Regions from separate parts of the Homo sapiens genome. Here region 1 is linked to region 2. The links are contacts of gene promoters, found by promoter capture Hi-C in blood cells and fetal thymus (Javierre and others, 2016). All regions are on one chromosome and are shown on one strand. The core of a region is centred on a gene start or on the middle of the fragment in contact, and the rest is flanking DNA. Distances in the headings are between cores, read along the strand shown.

The links. The method cuts DNA at HindIII sites, captures the fragments that hold promoters and counts their contacts. A CHiCAGO score of 5 or more calls a contact.
Region 1: a fragment that was not itself captured here is called in contact with the fragment with the promoter of MC5R in region 2 in 1 of 17 cell types (megakaryocytes); the score reaches 5.1 in megakaryocytes.

The regions. Positions count from the first base shown.
Region 1 is chr18:14,053,922-14,058,379 of GRCh38, forward strand. It overlaps the pseudogene LOC100128776. Among named protein-coding and RNA genes, the nearest start is that of ZNF519, 76 kb to the right of the region's middle. The HindIII fragment of the contact is 1,504 bases long and covers 1,433-2,936 here.
Region 2 is chr18:13,821,051-13,825,660 of GRCh38, forward strand. MC5R (melanocortin 5 receptor) reads left to right here and starts at 3,099. Exons shown (of 2, transcript NM_005913.3): 1 at 3,099-3,224. RefSeq lists silencers at 2,768-2,948, 2,914-3,203, 3,214-3,303. The HindIII fragment of the contact is 16,860 bases long and covers 1-4,610 here.

The DNA of each region.
Region 1 (4,458 bases), core at 935-3,434, 230 kb after region 2:
AGGACACCTGCTGCATGGAGGTTGTGAGCACTGAGGTGCTGAAGAGGCTCTCACTCTGTCTAAGAGAGTGTCCCGAGCAAGACAAGCAGTCCTAGATGCCCAGATTCTTGTTTTGGCTTCGGATCTGGGCAAAGGGAAAGCAAAGCAGCTGTGCTCAGATCTGAACTTGTTGGACATGTTGTGTTGAAACTTTACTGACATGTATGGGTGTAAATCTGCCAGAAGCTGAAGAACTCATCCGTGATGAAGATAGCTCTGATTTGAATTCATAGTCTATGACTCCTGGAAAATATCAGGCAAAAGAGCAGAAAACACCTTTAATCAAGCCCATACACTCCACTCTCTGTTGGATTCAACACAAGGAGAGTTCCTTGTGCCAAAGTCCCAAATCATTAGTCCAAGAAAACTTCCTATGATACAAAAGGAGACGATAATGCCTGCCCAGTTAAAAAGAAGGGAAGAATCTCATCAAGAAACAACAAAGAAAGAAGTAGAAAGAATCTTGGGATTGTTGCAGTTGTATATTCGAGATGCTACCCAGCGTCCTTCTTTGCCTTTGTGGTTGATCCACAATCTTTCCCCCAAACAGTGGAAAACATCTTTCATGTTTCCTTCATTATACAGGATGGTTTTGCAAGAGTAAAACCTGACCAAGACCGACTGCAAATAATAGAGCCTGTTAATATTAATGAAGAAAGTGAGGAAATTCACCAAAACACCCAAGTTAGGAATCGAGGAATTCTAGCTGTGAGGTACCCTGACTGGGAGGAGATTGTGAATACCTTTGAGATTTCAAAGCCTGGGATTACTCCAAGTCAGAGACAGCAGAGGCTAAGTGCTTGACGCTAGCTGAAGGACTCAAATGGATAGTGAAGTCCAAGAGGGAAAGAAGCATGTATTATATACAGTGTATGATTCAACATTTAAAAAGACAGATTGTTTTTAGTAAAATGTAGCTTTTGATATTTAATGAATTTGTCATGGTTGTTTTTGATTACAGGAAATTCACTGCCATATTAAAAAAAAAAAGCTGCCACACTTTTTTCCCATAGTGGCTATATCATTTTAAATAAATTACCACCAGCAATATGAGTGATCCAGTTTCTCCACATGCTCACCAGTATTTGGTACATTTTCCGTATTTTGCTTAAAGCATTCTGGTAAATTTGCCATAATATTGCAGTATGATTTCAATTTGCATCTCCGAGAAATAGCTAACATATTTTCATGTGGATACTTGCCATCTCCATCTCCTCCTCAGGGAAATGTCACTTCACATCTGTTACCTAATGTAATTGAGTTTTTCCCCACTGTGGCATTCGGAGTGTTTTTCACATGTTCTGGATACTACCCTTTGTCAGATATGCAGCTGGCCAATACTTCCTTACGTCTGTAGTATGTTACTTTATCCCTTTAAAGGGGACTTCCACAAAGCTTAGTTTTCTAATTTTGATGAATTCCAATTTACTCTTTGGTTGCTTTCTCTCTCTCTCTTTCTCTGTCAAGGAGAACTTTGGAAAACACTGTTATATATTTTGTAGGAATGTAAGATTAAACTTTATTTCTAAGACATATTTTCTTTCCATTAAAAAAACAAGGTTTTACTGAAAAATTTAAAACTAATTTATGTATTTACATGTATTTTTAATTACCTATACTACTAGAAGGCACTTTTCAAATAAGTATCAGTATTTTAAGAATGTAAAAGAAAAAATTAAACATGCTGAATAAAAATTTATAGTTAAAATCTATCCCATCCCTAATATACAGGAGTTTGAATATAAATTAGTAAAGTTTTAGTCTAAAATGACTAGATAGTATAATAATATCTATCTTGAGAACTGATACAGCAAGTAAATGAAAATCAGTTTATAAAGAGAATGGAGTAGGGGACCTAATGTCATTTAAGCCTCTCTTGTTTTACAGAAAATCAATTTTTGTAAGTCACCAAATAAAAAATAAACATACTAAGAAGAATGTTTCTCCATTACATTGTAAAGAAAACAATCTTCTGAGCTGGAGGACTGTAAGACCTGGATGTGTAACCTGAGACTATCAAAATAACTCATTTGTAGACCATTTGACTTCCTTCCACAGCCCGCCTAGCATGTACAAACACCCACTGATTGAAAATCTGTGGAATAGTCACTTTCAAGTAAAAGAGGCGCACATGAAGGTGTACAATGTGATTTTTGTAATTTTTATGAAGTTGAAGAACTGTCAAAAATGATGTATAAAATAAAAATCAAAACAGGGCTGTGTATGGTAGAGTGGGTGGGCCTGTCTGAAATGTCAGAGGGGATTTTCTGTGCTGATATGATCCATATATTAATAGGGCTGTTGGATACTGTAAGGAATATAAAGTTATAAAAATCTGTAAAGTCATTGACAGATAACATCTGCACATTTCACTATAGTTTAATTTTGTGTTAAGATAAAACAATAAGATGGAAAGGAGAATGATCATCAAATTGTAATGGAGATAAGTATATTTCATTCACAAATTTCCCCTGCCAGTGACCATAAAATTGACCAATCCAGAATGCTAGCTACTAGTAGGGTTCGAGGCAGAATGTTGGGGTGTACCTTGGGGTTTGTTGTGGCAGCTGGACCCACGGTTACTGGGCAGAGCTCTGTGGTGGCTGCAGTGCCATGGAGAGTCTGAGATCCTCTGTGGACCTGGGCCCTGGACTGACCCTTCAGAAGCTGGGCAAGGTGGTGGTGGAGCTCCTGCCACATGATCTCAGTCCACAACTCACTGTCCACAAACTCCAGGTGGAGACACTGGTGTGTTTGCCTCTCATCGGGTTATTGGTGGGTCTCATGGTTTTATTGAGGCTTGTTCAGTCTGTTAGGGGTCAACTTTGTGTAAAGCGTGGAAACAACTGTGGAAACACTAAATTCACAGATTGAAAAGAAATGCCAACTCACTAACAAGCTTAGTGCTACCAGTAAGGAGTTTGCAGAGATTGAATTATCTTTAGAGAATGTCAGGGTAGATAGAGTCTTTAAATATACCCAGACTTAGGATACTTAAAAAAAAAATGAGGAGCACCAACTTGATGCTGATGGAGGAATTCAATTCTCTGTTTCGAGAATTGAAAGAGAGATCCAAACTCTCCAAGCAATAAGAGGCAAAGGAGGAGATGCCAAAAATGGTGGAGTCTGTAGAAGAGGTCATGAGATAAGTATATTTCATTCACAAATTTCCCCTGTCTGTGACCATAAAATTGACCAATCCAGAATGCCAGCTACTAGGAGGGTTCCAGGCAGAATGTTGGGGTGTCCCTTGGGGTTTGTGGCAGCTGGACCCATGGTTACTGGGCAGAGCCCATCACAAGGGGCTTTTCTAAACCTGCTTGGAGGAGAAGCACCAAATCCTGCTGCTCTCTTCTCAGGAGTGGACGTGGGTCTTAAATCCGTGCTGCTCCCTCCCCTCCCCTTGGGCCTCATGGGCTGCCAGGCTGCGTATACCCACCTTGACTCCTTCTGAGGGTCACTGAGGCCAGTTGGTTCAGGGGAGCTCCTCACTGGGCTGGAATTCCTCCACCTTCACATGCTGTTCATAGCAGTCAGCTTCTTCACGGTAAACTCCTTCAAATATAAAGAATATAGGAGATCCTGCAACATGTCAAGAAATGTGTGACTTTCTTTCCTTTCACAGAGAGTTTGGATTCTTTCTCATTAGCAGTGAAAGAAATGCTGTACTTGAGAGCCTAATCTTTTATTCAAATTGAAGCATCATCCAACTACATTTCTCAGTATAATGCTCTGTAAATATTCATAAATTAATAATTGAACAATTCCTATTTTATTCTCTAAATAGTTACACTTTAAAAATACAAGCAGTTTTCAATCAAGACTTTATCAATTTTTTAAATTATATTCCCAACCGTTATAAATCACAAGTTAGAGCATCATTTTTTGACCTCAGTATATATTCATATTTTAAAAGTTAATAAATATATTTTGGGATAAAGTGGAAGGGTATGCTTAGAAAGTTAAATTAATTAATATTTATATTCAAATATAATAACAAATATTTTTAAGAATGATCTCATCATCCAGGTACTGAGCACAGTACCCAATAGTTAGTTTTTCAACCCTTGCTGCCTCCCTCCCACCTCTAGTTGTCATTGGTTTCTACTGCTGCCTTCTTTATTTCCATGAGTACCCAATGTTTAGCTCTCACTTATAAATGAGAAAATGTGGCATTTGGTTTTCTGTTCTTGCATTAACTCACTTAGGATAATGGCCACCAGCTGCATCCGTGCTGCTGCAGAGGACATGATTTTGTTCTCTTCTGTGGTGTGTAGTATTGCATGGTGCTTATGTATCACATTTTCTTTATCCAGTCCACCACTGATGAGCACTGAGGTTGATTCTATTCTTTGTTGTTGTGAATACTGCTGCAATGAACATGCAAGTGCATGTGTCTTTTTGGTAGAACAATTTGTT
Region 2 (4,610 bases), core at 1,849-4,348:
GCGCCATGAGAGCGACAGACACAGAGCTGTGCCAGACACCTCAGGGGAGGACCTGCTGCCCAACTGTAGGGGTGGTCTGCTGCCTCCCCCAGCTGTCAGCCCCTCCGGTTTGGCCTCACACCTTCCCGGAAGCAGCTTGCTTCTGGTGACTGAGCTGGGTGGGGCGTGAGGGCTGAGGTTGTTGGAGCTGCCTGGCAGCTCTCTTCTCTCCCTCCCCTCCCATCCCTCCCTCCGCAGGCCTGCCCCCAGGAGGCTTCCCCACAGCATCCTGCATGGTGAACTCTTCAGAGCCTGTGACTCAGAGAACCCAGGCCGAGACATCCAGTGTCCAGCTAGATTTGACCCTTGCAAGCCTTCACAGATATGACTCCACGGGTTGTCTCTGTGCACTCGAATTGAGAATCCTCTCTGTTGTCATTGTTCAAGAAATAAAACACCTGGGTTGTTGCATGTTATGCTGGTCTTTGACAGGGAAAGGAACATTCCTTCCTGGGTGGCTCATGTCATCGTGTGTGTTCAGCATTGTCATTAGGCTGCTGTTTGGGAGAAAGTTTCCAATGACAGGAACAGTTGAAGAGCTTAGTCTCTATTCTCTTAACTCTATTAACCTTAATTCAATTATTTTCCTGCAAGAAACCGAGAATTCCTACATCACCTAAGGTGTTTCAGAATATAAAAATAATCAAAATATTTCCCCAGTTTATTAAACAAAGTTAGGGTAACTTATATACCAAAATCTGATAAAGACAGTATGAAGACAGGAACACTGCACATCAAATCCAGCAGCATTTTAAAAGAATAATGCCCGGTGGCACCAGGGCTCTCAGGGAGGCTGCGTCCTGCCGGGGAAAGTGCTTGGGCTCTGAGTCAGTCGGGGCTCAGCTCTCTAGCGCTGGAAGCTGGAGCTTGCTAAGTCACCTCTCCCAGCACCGGCTCCTTCCATTGCGAGAGGAGAAACCCACTTCTAGGGTTTCGTAAAGGTTGAGGAAGGTAATTCCTGTGCAGCACTCAGGGTCACCCCTGCACATAGGGCCCCTGGGCCAGCCGCCCTCACCACTGTGGGAGGCCGCCTGCTGTGGTCCAGCTGCTCATCTTGCACAGAGCCCTCCATTTTGAGCACTTTCCTGGGACACCAGGACCTTTTGCAGAGCCCTCTCTGATCTGATCTTGGATGTGAGGACTATATGTGGGAGTGCTTGACCCTGCTGATGTTTTCAACACACGGAAATGGGTTCCCTCCCTCACACCACATTCCCAATATGTATTCTCAACATTCAGAACCTCCTTCTAGAATTCCACCCTGTGGCTCCCAGCACGGCTTGGGACTCCAGTGGCGTGAGGCCAGCCAGACTGTGGTCCCCACACTTGAAATACTGGAAGGTTGTGATCATCTGCAAAGCCCAAGGAAAGCTCTGGTAGTGATATGGCCCCGTGCATCCTGCCCTGGCTTGCAGGGCAGTGGCACTTCTGCTTATTGTGAGTATAATGATTCTTTTGGGGGTTGAAGGTCAGTTTTAGGTGTCAGAGAAGGAGTGGGGTCCAGAAACTATTGCGAAAGGCCAGGATATTTGGTGAGAGGACATCCTTTGTTCTTTTTTGCTGGAGTAAGGAAAGCCTGTGTGGTTGATAAAGCCTGGCATGGCATGTGTAGTCCTGGAGGAGGGGTGAGAGCCTTGGGCAAAGAGGGGCGTGGTAGGGCCACAGATGAGGGCTCCCAGGCACTGGGCCTCCTTCCCAAAGAACAATCATCAGGACATCCCAGAGACCACTGTCCAGGAGAAACGGGGTGACAAGCCCTCTTTGAGCTCGGGAGCATTTTAATCAGTGCTCAAGAGGAAGAGAAAAGAAACAAAAAGTGCAACCAGCCAGAAAAACAACCAAGCAGCTACCCACCCAACCACCCATCCACCCACCCACTGACCCAACCAACCACTCCCCCACCCAACCACCTATCCATCCACCCACCGACCCAACCAACCAACCAACCAACCACCCACACAACCACCCATCCACCCAACCCACTGACCCAACCAACCAAACCAAGCAACCACCCACCCAACCACCCATCCACCCACCCACTGACCCAACCAACCTAGCAACCACTCACCCAACCACCCATCCATCCACCCACTGACCCAGCCAACCAACCAACCAACCAACCACCCTCCCAACCACCCATCCACCCACCCACTGACCCAACCAACCAACCAAGCAACCACCCACCCAACGACCCACCCACCCACCCACTGACCCAACCAACCAACCAAGCAACCACCCACCACCCACCCACCCACTGACCCAACCAACCAACCAAGCAACCACCCACCTACCCAACCAACCCCCACTTACCCAATCAACCAACCAAGCAACCATCCACTCACCCAACCAACCACCCACCCACCCAAGCAACCAATCAACGAACCAAGCAACCACCCACCTACCCAACCAACTACCCCCCACCCACCCAAGCAAGCGAGCAAGCGAGCAAGCAACCAAGTAACCATCTACTCACTCAACCAAGCAACCACCCACCTACCCAACCAACCAATCAACCAACCAAGCAACCACCCACCTACCCAACCAACCAATCAACCAACCAAGGAACCACCCACCTACCCAATCAACGAACCCCCCACCCAACCAGCCAAGCAACCAAGTAACCATCCACTCACCTAACCAATCAACCAATCAACCAATCAGGCAACCACCCACCTACCCAACTAACTAACCCGTAACCACCCAACCAACCAAGCAAGCAACCACCTGCTCACCCAACCAACCAATCACCAAACAAGCAACCACCCACCCACCCACTCAACCAACCAACTACCCAACCAAGCAACCACTCACCCAACCAACCATTCAACCGACCGACCGACCGACCGACCGACCCACCGACCCGACCGACCAACCAACCAACCAAGCAACCATCCAACCATTCAAGAGTGTGTTCGGGGGGATTTTCGCTCGGGGCTGACGCGGTTCTCTGGCCGCTGTGCCGTGCTGGGCCACTAGGTGGCAGCGGAGGCCGCCCGGAGCGACAGCCGGCGGTGCGGAGGCGGGCCCGGCGCGGGCAGGCAGGAGGCTTAAAGCCCCGCAGAGCCGCAGCCGCCTAGCTGGGGGAGAGGCCCGTCCGGGGCTGGCTCTGAGCGCCGCACGGCCGTCGGATCCCGGGGACGCCGGGGGCCCGGGCTGAGCGCCGCGGCCCGCGAGGAGGAGCACCGGTAAATAGCCACAACTTTCTATCTCCTTGAGATCCTGAGAATAAATGCAAAATCGCGCTTCCGCTGCATGTGGAAGTGAGCGGGGCGGCAGCTAGCTTGCCCCGTGAGTTTTTAACACAGCTCGATATGATGTTTAGTATAATTGCATAATTTACCGATATATCTGAGCTGGAACTCAGCTGTAACAAATGATTGTAGTTCAATAAATGCTTAGATTACCAATTTTTTCCTTTTTTATTTTTATAGATTTAGGGGGTACAGGTGCTGTTTTGTTATATGGATGTATTGCATAGTGGTGGAGACTGGGCTTTTAGTGTAGCCATCACCCCTATAGTGTACATTGTACCTATTAAGTAATTTGTTGTCCCTCACCCCCTCCCTCCCTCCCAAAGTGATTACAAATATTAATGATGACAGTGATGACAGAAATTCTCTCCAGATGTGATCTGAGTTTGGAGGGCAAAGGGATTTTTGAAAATGAATCATAAGAGAGAAATTTTGCAACAAAGGAGTGTGGTACATTTAAATTGCTGTTTTTTTTTTTAAATACTGTGCTCACGCGGACCTAATAAACTATCAAGCAGACCTCATGGAATTCCACATAATGCAGAAGCGAGGGAAAAATAGGTATTGAGGGAAAAGCAGCACTGTTTTCCTCAATTTTAACACGTATGTGCAGCCTACACTTACAAACTTAAGACAGTAGCTTTTAACATGTGACTTTGCTCAGGGTAACAGACCATTCTGGTTATAGCCTTACTTACAGCTGTGGAGGCTGAATCCTGATGGGTCTAAGAAGTGTCAGGACAAGTGTTAGGGATGCACCTGTCTGTCTGTCTTAAGGGAATACGGGTCTGGGCAGTCTTAAATCGGAGCTCCCTTGAGGAGAATGTCGTGCAGTAGCCTTAGGAATGTGAACATTGGGAGACTGGCTGGGATTTTGTAGGTTATGAGTTGGGGACACTTATGATAGTGAACTTGAGCCCAGGAGAGAAGCCATAAAAAGTGAAACTGTCCTGGGCACTTGGAGGTGAGTGTCTCTCTAGTAAGATGCATGTGAAAGGCTGGGAGCTGAAAGCAAGGAGAGCAGAAGAGGCTGGTGAAGATTCTAATCTGCGTGTCCAGGGGCACTCTTCCAGGTCTCAGGAACGCAGGTCAGAATGTGCAAGCCAGCTGCCGGGCACGTGGCTCACCCCTGTAGTACCAGCACTTTGGGAGGCTGAGAGAGAAGATCGCTTGTGGCCAGGAGTTTGAGACCAGACTGGGCAACATAGGGAGACCCTGTCTCTTAAAAAAAAAAAAAAAAAAGGACTGAGTGAGCCGAGCCCAGTCCTCTGATGCACTGTGTCATTCATCCCCTTTCTTAGGCTGTGTTGGTTCTAGGCT